3 separate regions of the Homo sapiens genome follow, and regions 1 and 3 are each linked to region 2. The links are contacts of gene promoters, found by promoter capture Hi-C in blood cells and fetal thymus (Javierre and others, 2016). All regions are on one chromosome and are shown on one strand. The core of a region is centred on a gene start or on the middle of the fragment in contact, and the rest is flanking DNA. Distances in the headings are between cores, read along the strand shown.

Region 1 (3,067 bases), core at 247-2,746, 310 kb after region 2:
GCTCAAAACTCAAAATCGCCAAGGCTGCCTCCGTTAGTATCTGGGTTCCAGGTGGAGGGTGGAAACCGAGATGGACAGTGGATGGTGTGTGTTAGTGATAGAATTACCTAAAGGTAGGAAATAAATGTGTCTCCAACTATCACGGTGAGAGTGTGAGGACAGCTTCCATGAAGATGGCTGAACGGAAAACAAAACATCTCCGGGAATCTAGTCTCAAGTTTCCCAGAAAATAAGATGCAGTGGGAAAATGAAAGGAAAGACGAGCCTCATATGCCAGGCAGCCAAGACCCACACAGGCCAACCCACATCCTTGCTGGGGGGAACACTGGGGTACCTGGCACCTGCTTCAGCAATGTGCACTGGTTCTCCAAGCGTGGACCCGGATCAGTAGAGAATTGCCTGAGAACTCATTAGGAAGGCAAAGTTTCAGTCCCCGACCCCAGACAAACTGCATGAGGGTGGGACCCAGCAGCTGTGTCTAGTAAGCCCTCCAGGTTGAGTCCGGTGGTTCCTAAAGTTTGAAAAACACATTTTTAGTGGATTTGGTACCTAGAACCCTAGTAACTGGGAGGACAATTTTGCACATGAGAAAATCAGGATCCATAAAAGTTGAGTTTCTTGCAAAAGCCATGAGGTCAGAATTGGATGGGTGGCCTACTACCCACCCCCAGCATGTCCTCTGGCCAGGCCCTGGAAATCTAAATCTAGGTCAAGATGATCCTTGGCCTTCAGGAGCTCCAACAGTCCCTAGAATGCACTGAAGGAGAACAGTGGCATCGTCAGAGCCTTGGCCTAGCAGAATCAGAGGCTGAACCAACCACCCAGGTGCACAATGCCCTGACCAGTAGGTGAGAAAGAGGCAGATGAGGATGCCATGTTTCTGCTGCAAAGGAAAGGCATGGGAAGGGCTTTCAGGCAATGGATTGACAAGCTACATTTCTCAAATTCAGCAAACCATTTGGAATGACACTAAGAATCCCAAAGGTTGACTATGCGGTGAAATACGTGTGAGAATCAGAAGGAAACAAAAAGTCACAGAACAGCTGCCATACGAAGAGATAAAAACAGGGTTGAGTGAAAAAGATAAATGATAGGAGGGATTGCTATTAGATATTTGAAGAAATACGAAGAGAACACCTCAATTCTTTGAAAAATACTAATTACCATCTGGCAAATCTTTGCTTTACTTCTACTTGCTGTATTGAGTCTCTGTCAAAAGAAAGAGCTGAGATACATGTTTCATCTACCCTAAGAAATTTCCGTCTAACACCAGAAGTTATCTACTTGGTACACAGCAGCTAGGCTGCCTGTCATGAGAATTTAAAAATTACATCTTTATTTGTAAAAATTCCCTTGCAATATCTATTAAAATCCAGAAGGCACTTTTTATTTATTTAGTTACTTATTTATATTTGGAGACAGGGTCTCACTCTGTCACCCAGGCTGGAGTGCAGTGGCACGATCTTGGCTCACTGCAACGTCCGCCTCCCAGGCTCAAGCGATCCTCCCGTCTCAGCCTCCCAGTTGCTGGGACCACAGGTGCATGCCATAACACCCGGCTAATTTTTGTATTTTTAGTAGAGATGGGTTTTCTCTACGTTGACTAGGCTGGTCTCAAACTCCTGGGCTCAAGCGATCTGCCTGCCTCAGCCTCAGGAAGGCACTTGTAGATAAGAAGATTACACTAGGTGAAGCACCTGAGTGATTGTGGGGGGGGGGGGGGTGCGGGGGTACAAAATGAATCCCCAGGTCACCCAGTATCACAGGGCCATTCACAGGGTAGAAGGGCCCCTGGCCTGAGACTAGCTTCCAAGATTTAAGGGACATATTTGTACTTTCAGAGTTTTTATTAGTGCCCGGAGTACTGGCTTATCTTTGCAAGTTTACTAGCAGGTGGAACACGAGGTAGCAGGATTATGATGGCAATGACCTTGAGCACTGCAAACATCCTGGGCATTTCTACTAGTCACTGCCATTCACCATCGTTCTCCCTGTGCCAATAACCTGGAGAGCCAGAAAATCTGAATCTGCCTTCCCAATGTCTTATCCACTCCAGGGATCTCAAACTCAAATGCCTTCCAGGGCCAAGCAGGAAACACAAATGAGAGAAGCATGCTGCATAGGAACCGAGATGATGTGCAGAGAACATGCCTGGCCCACCGTGGACGGCTCTGGCTACAGCTAACTGTGGTGGGCTGTTTGGGAAAGAAGATCCAGGCTACTATTAAAATTTACCTCCTGACTTGTTAAGAGAAACTGAAAGTCAGGACTTCTTTGCACAATCTCCTTTTTATGTTCCCAAGAAATTTAAAAACTTGTAAAGCATCATATGAGACAAACAAATCATGTCTGAGGACCACATCTGGCCCCCAGACCCAGACCACCAGAGTGCAAACTCCAGTCTAAATGATGCTGACGATTCAGACCCCTGAAAACACTCAAACGACTAAGTTTCATCTTGGTTTGAAGATCTCCATGGACTCGCTTGGCTTCGCGATCCAGTCACACATTCTCATCGGCACCACTCCCTGGCTCACTCGGTGAGTTAGCTGGAGGCCTGAAAATGCCTAGACAGCTCAGACTGTGTGAAATTCCATGCACAACAAAGCAGACCCATACAACTCCCAATCACAGACAGGAGAGGCCTGCCTTCCCACCCATGGACTTGGAGAGACAGTTGATCTGGTTCGTTCACTCAGCCTGGCCCCATGGGAGGCTGTGGCACCCATTCTATGGAGGAAACCGTGGCATTATCTGAAGTACAGCAGAGCCTGGGGTCTGCCCTGCCCCCACCAGGAGAGCTCCCTTCTGGCCTCGCCCACGAGGTGGGGTAGGGAAAGAGTTTCCATGCCAAATACTTCTAACACACGCAAGTAAACCCAGCAGATGGAAGAGACAATTCTGGATCCCTGACGCCTCCAGACTGCTGGCTTTGGTTGGGTCATCATGAAGAGAACAGCTGCTTCCTCAATCACGACTACCGCACAGAACAGAGGATTCTGTTTTGATGACTTCTATGCAAGATATAGAAACAAGAGGGGAGTTTCCTGCCTTTTATTTCAAAATA
Region 2 (3,137 bases), core at 369-2,868:
TTTCGAGACGGAGTCTGTCGCCCAGGCTGGAGTGCAGTGGCACGATCTCAACTCACTGCAAGCTCTGCCTCCCGGGTTCAAGCAATTCTCCTGCCTCAGCCTCCCGAGTAGCTGGGATTACAGGCGCGCACCACGATGTCTGGCTAATTTTTGTATTTTTAGTAGAGAAAGGGTTTCACCATGTTGGCCAGGCTAGTCTCAAACTCCTGGCCTCAGGTGATCCGCCTGCCTGGGCCTCCCATAATACTGGGATTACACAGGTGTGAGCCACCGTGCCGGGCTAAAAATAAGCTTTTTAATTTAACGCTCGTTTTTATGAAAAGATTCATCTAAAGACAGAACCAGGATATTCTAATGAAAGGAGTCTATTGTTATTTCACATGGCTAAGAGCGATTGATTACAATCTAAAGAACAGTTCCGGGGTTAACTGAAAGAACTAGCTTATCCACAGAAACCCTTTCAATCCCAGAAGGAGAAATTTAGAATTTGGAAACTGAACATTAGTCATTTCTTAAGGTAAAGCCACTTCATTCCAAAGTCACTGTCTGTTCGCCCTTAATTTATCACCGTAATTTATCTAAGAGGTAAAACTGAACACCGAAAAGGTAAGATGTAGAGTGACAAAAGGAGACGGTGGGTCACAGGGCGAGTGCCCAGGTGACTTCGGGCCTCAGTCCTCTCGCCAGCAAAGGGCGGACAATGACCCCTCCCGTCCCGCCCGGGAAGGCGATCGAGGAAACGCACTGGCCAGGCCCATTTACTGATGCTCAGCAGGGTTTGCAAAAAGCCCCCAACGGGAGGTTTTCATGCTGAAAGTCCTGTTGCCCCCCCATCCCCCACCATCTAATTAACCTGCACGTTACTGTAAGGAAGGTTCTGCTTCCGTAATTTTCTTTATTTCGACAGAGGCTGGAGAAAAAAAATCATAGGCTGGAAGAGGGGAGCGATGGGCAGGCCGATCTGCAGGGCGCAGGAGCAGGCCGGGAGGACCCAGCCCTCCAAGGCTGCATCAGCGCCCCCGCCGCGTGACCAGGGCCACCGGTTTACTGCACAGCTCCCCCGTCCCCAGAACGCAGCCTCCCCGCCAACCCCAGGAACCAAGGGTGCCCAAAGGCCTCCTACCCGGAACCCCGGGGCGCCTCGGGGTCTCTGGGCCGGGTGGGCCGAGTCCTGGCCTCCACAGGCCGCGAGCGCAGGGGGCGGCGGCTCCGCCCGGTCTGGCAGGCGGGGCTGCCACATCCTCAGCCTCTCCCTGCCGCCCGCCCGTCGGCCGCTCTGGGCTGGAACCAGGACTCCGGCCTGCAAGCCGTGGGTCGCCACGCCCCTGCCCCCTGAAGCTGCGCGCCGGCCGGAGACTCCAGGGCGCCCGGGTCCGAGCCGCCCGCAGAGTAAACGGGCCGCTGAAGCGGGGCTCGTTCCCCGGCCGAGGCCCAGCGCGCCCCCTCAGCCAGCATCCCCCGAACCCGGGCCGCGGCCACCCCGCGCCCGCCCGCCTCCCCCGCCGCTGTCAGGGAACCCCGGCCAGGGCCCGAACCAGAGCCCCAGGACAGCGGCGCCCAGACGGTACCTGACAGCGCCTGAGGACAACCGGGTACACGCGGCGTCTATGAAGCGCAACAGTGACGCCGGAGAGTCACTGCAACTTAAAGGCTGATTCTGCCCCGCCCCCAAGACACCCTCGCCGCTCATTGGCTGGGGCGGAGGGCAGGATACCAATCGCGTGGGTCCCGTCCTCCGCCCCGCCCTCCGGCCGCGCATCAAGGATCTTTGCTCCTCCCGCGGATTCGATCCGCGCTCGCGCCTCCTGAGCCCGCCGGCCTGTACCTGAGCTCAGGCCCCTCGGTCGCCTCCTCTGGCGGGACGAGAAGAGTCCTTGTCCGCCCTTGCTGACGAGAAGACTGAGGCCCGAAAAGGAAAAGTCTGTTGGGCCCCCCACTGCGCGGGCCGGGTGTGGCTGGAGGCCGAGAGACGTGAGGCTGGACCGCCCGCCCTGTGCTCCTGGAGGGAGGGACCAGCCCCAGCTCTGCCCCAGCCACAGCTGCGGGAGCCCCATGCCCTTGAACCCTGATGCGCCGCGCGGCTTAGTTGTGCCTCTGAATCCACCTCCAAAAGTCGTCGCTGCCTATGGAAAACACACTGCCCACCTGTTCGCAGCTGCTGTCAGATAATTGAGTGGCAGCAACCCACTCACAGTACAGATTTGCCTGTGGTGCCCTCCACAGCCGGTTATTAAATTCAGAACACAAAATAGATATTCCGGGACAACCTCATGTTAGAATCGGAAGGGACTTGGACTTCACTTAGCCCACAACAAGATGTTAAATATTGGAAAACAGAGACCCAGAGAAGGAAAGCGACTTACCCAGTCATCCAACAGTAGGGGCAGTCTGGTCCTGTGTGCCCCTCGCCACCCCTCTCAGAGGGCAGGCGCTGGCAGCTGCCGGCACCACACTCCATTAGACCACAATGACCAGTCGGGGGCCCAGCTGGAAACAGAGGGCACACTCCAATGTGAACATTTCCTAAAACGTGGTGGTGGGGGCCCGTGGTTCATGCCTGTAATCCCAGCACTTTGGCAGACCGAGGCAGGAGGATTGCTTGATCCCAGGAGTTCCAGACCAGCCTGGGCGACACAGTGAGACCCCGTCTCCACAAAAAAAAATAAAAATTAATCTGGTGTGGTGGCACACCTATGTTCCCAGCTACTCCAAAGGCTGAGGTGGGAGGATCACTTGAGCCCAGGAGGTTGAGGCTGCAGTGACCTATGACTGCACCACTGCACTCCAGCCTGGGCAACAAAGCAAGACCATCTATCTTAATCAACCAATCAATCAATCAATGTAGGCAAGTAAACCACAAGGGATGGAGAAATAACCTGGGTCTCATGCACCAGCGAGGGCCATTATCCATCCTAGGCCCAACGGCCTCCAAGTGGGGTTTCCAGAATTCCAGAACCCAAAGAGAGGAGTGTGGGAAAGGCTATCTGGTCACCAAAGTCATCAGCAACTGCATGGGAAGGAGCTGGACAATGAGCATCTCCTGTCAGGCTTCCACATGGGCTGAAGCCATTAGGAGGCCAGAGGCCAGGGGAGCCCTTTAAGACAGCTCAGCCTCCTGGGACAAACAGCAGGGTGGA
Region 3 (3,064 bases), core at 458-2,957, 330 kb before region 2:
TCCCAGCCGCGCCGGCCGGCCCCGGGCGCAGGGCGGGCGGGAACGTGGGCACCCGGACAGCGACGGGGAGGTCAAGCAGCTGTGCCCAGGACCCGGGCGGCTCCGAAGCCTCAACACGCACACACTCGCGCGCACGCCGGCCCATCGGTTGCCTGGAGGAGTCGGGAAGGTGCTTCCACGGCTCTTCATTCATTTTCCCAAAGGCAAGGTTCCCTTCGCCCCGGCGCCTCTATCCTGCCATCCCAGGGGGCCAATTGCGCCACAGCCCGCCACCCAGCCACCCACAGCCACCGCGTCCTATCTCCCGGCACACACAACCCAACAGACTCGCATTACATCTCCACCGCCAGCGTCGCCTCCGCGCCCCGGCCGCTGCCATCCGGCTCCCCAGCTTCGCCGCCCCGCAGCCCCGGCTCCCCGCCTCTGGCCTCACCGCGCGGCTCAGAGCTGCCTCGCTCGGCTCGCCGCACCAAGGCCGGCCAGAGACGCCGCCACCGCCGGGAAGCGCCGGCAACTCCCGAGTCACGCCGCCTCCCGAGACGCGGCGGGGCGCAGGGAGGGGACAGCAGTGGGGGCGGGGCGGGGAGGAGGAAGGAGGAGGGGGCGGGGAGCAAAAGTTCACACCGCTCGGGGCTCAGCCGCTCCCCTATCTCTTCCCAGGCCCGCCCCCGCCATCCCCCTTCCCTGAACCGGGTCCCACGGGCTTAGGCGCGGGAGAGCTCTGGCCTCCCCGCCCGGAACCGCCGCAAGGCTAGAGCCAGGGTTCTGGAAGCGCATCCGAGCTCGCAACCGGGGAGAGAGTGGCGGATGCCCACTTACCTGCCCCGGGCCGCGCCTGGAAACTTCCCCAAAGTGCGATAGGGGTGTGGGGGCGGAGCGCAAGGCTGGGGGGAATCCCCGTCCCCTACCGCCAAACGACGCGCGCTCACACCGTGAAAGCACTGGTCTGTCCGTCGGTCGGTCCCCCGCCTGCGGCTCCCAGAGCTGGGCGGTGCAGGGGCGCCCCGATTCCGACTACTGGGCTCCTTCTCCCGGACAGCCCGCCGGTGCGTTCCACGCGGCTTGCGCCCCCCGCCGGCCTCCGGCTATCCACGGCGCCACCACGCCACTGCTCGGTCCCCTGTCCCCTCGCTCCGGCCGCGTCCTCTCTGCGAGGGAGGGGGCGTGTGTCGCCGCTGGGTAACCCTTCCCGCGGGGTCCTCAAGCGCGCAGGGCGCCCGGAGCGCGGCCAGGACCAATGGCGAAGGGACTCCTCCCGCTGGGGATCGCTGAAGCCTCGGGGAGGCCGGGCCAAGGAGCCCGGGGCCCAAACCTGCCTCGGCTCGTCGAGCTCGCAAGTTCATTGTCTGCCTGGGCCGCCGCCGCCACCGCCACCGCCACCACCGCGCCGGGAGCGCCGCGGGGAGTGAGGCTGCGCGCCGCCTCCGCCGGCCCGGACTCCCTACGCCCAGCCCCGGCCGCCGCCGGCGCTGCCTGGCCCGAACCCGCGGAGGGGCGCCGGAGCCCCGAGCCCAGGGCCAGACCTCCTACCGCCGCTCCTCGCCGACCCCACCTCGGCGTCTGGCACCTAACTTGTACCTGAGAAGCCTGAGTCCAGCCCGGGAGCCTCTGCGGCTCCGGCTCCGCGGGAGCGCGCCCAGCCCCGAGCCTCTAGCCCCGCATCCAGGGCGCGTCAACCTGACTCCCCGAGCGCTGGGAGGAAAAGTTTGGGAGTGACGTGCAGACGGCGAATGAAACATCCGAGGAGAACCCTCCCCCCGCCCCATGTCGCGCTGACACACATCAGCTCCAGTCTGGAATGTGAGATCAAGGCGTGTGCGCCGAGCGGTGGGTTTGGCCCCTGCCCCCTCCCCCTCCGAGTCAACACTGCTTGTGTGTTGCGGTGATTCCAAATAAAAGCACATCGAAACCCCTGAAATCTGGCAGTGACACCTTGCCAGATACTTCTTTTTTTTAAAGACAGAGTTTCGCTCTTGTTGCCCAGGCTGGAATGCAATGGCGCGATCTCGGCTCACTGCAACTTCCGCCTCCCGGGTTCAAGAGAGTCTCCTGCCTCAGCCTCCCGGGTTCAAGAGAGTCTCCTGCCTCAGCCTCCCGAGTAGCCGGGATTACAGGCATGCGCCACCACGCAAAATAGGCTAATTTTATATTTTTAGTACAGACGGGGTTTCTCCATGTTGGTCAGGCTGGTCTCGAACTCCCGACCTCAGATGATCCGTCCGCCCCCCCAACCCAAAGTGCTGGGATTACAGGCGTAAGCCACCGCGCCCGGCCGCCAGAGACATCTTTAAGGAACTTGGCGGTCTGGAGCCAGCCCGTACATTAATATTCAAGGCCACAGCGCTGGTGAGTTCGGCGCCCTCTGTTGTATTTTTGCATCCCGGGAAGGCTGGCCCGGCTCTTTGGCCCGGCGTGTTTTGCTTCCGCGGGGGAGGTAAAGCTCTGCAGGACCCCGATCGCCACGGCCTGCCGCAGTGGCCTGGAGTCGGCTGCCCCAGGGAACCACCTGGACAGCCCGAGGGCAAGAAAGCGGCACCAGTGGCCGACTCCACTGACTCTGGGCTGAAGATGCCATCAGTTAAAGAAAAGACACATGAAATTCTGGCAGATTCGCTCAGAGGGCGCTTGGAGCACCAAGCCCAGCCTCTCAGGAAACTGAGGTCCAAGGGACAAAAAGAATCTGCAGTCTCTTGCCGGCCTGTGTCCCCGTGGCCAGAGTCCAGCACCCTCTTCCTCGAAGCAACCAGAAGTGGAAATGAAAGTGCTCCGTTAACTGTAGACTACATGCCACCGAAGGGTCATTCCTGACAGTGGCTTCTCCCCATTATCTCTTTATTGCCGGAGGCTTCATCTCGCCCCCCTGAAGCTACAGTCCACCCTGAGGTCATAAACTTCTGCTCAGCACCCATGGCAACTAATGCAGAGGTCACCATCAGAGGATTATAACTGCAGATGGGAAACCGGGATGAGAGGGGAGTTCTTTAAAATCCTGTCTTGTTTTCCTGCAAATAATGCCTCTTACATAAAATCTGCGAAGAAAGATGAATGCAGCAAAGAGACTTGC

What was found. The method cuts DNA at HindIII sites, captures the fragments that hold promoters and counts their contacts. A CHiCAGO score of 5 or more calls a contact.
Region 1: a fragment that was not itself captured here is called in contact with the fragment with the promoter of OAT in region 2 in 1 of 17 cell types (naive CD4 T cells); the score reaches 5.3 in naive CD4 T cells.
Region 3: the fragment with the promoter of CHST15 here is called in contact with the fragment with the promoter of OAT in region 2 in 1 of 17 cell types (monocytes); the score reaches 5.2 in monocytes.

What each region holds. Positions count from the first base shown.
Region 1 is chr10:124,725,622-124,728,688 of GRCh38, forward strand. All of the region lies in intron 1 of FAM53B (family with sequence similarity 53 member B), which reads right to left. Among named protein-coding and RNA genes, the nearest start is that of FAM53B, 17 kb to the right of the region's middle. RefSeq lists an enhancer at 2,883-3,022. The HindIII fragment of the contact is 3,243 bases long and covers 1-3,067 here.
Region 2 is chr10:124,417,305-124,420,441 of GRCh38, forward strand. It overlaps OAT (ornithine aminotransferase), which reads right to left and starts at 1,619. Exons shown (of 10, transcript NM_000274.4): 1 at 1,569-1,619. RefSeq lists silencers at 1,179-1,718, 1,661-2,320 and an enhancer at 2,294-2,808. The HindIII fragment of the contact is 6,386 bases long and covers 290-3,137 here.
Region 3 is chr10:124,091,891-124,094,954 of GRCh38, forward strand. It overlaps CHST15 (carbohydrate sulfotransferase 15), which reads right to left and starts at 1,708. Exons shown (of 8, transcript NM_001270764.2): 1 at 1,579-1,708. The HindIII fragment of the contact is 12,111 bases long and covers 1-3,064 here.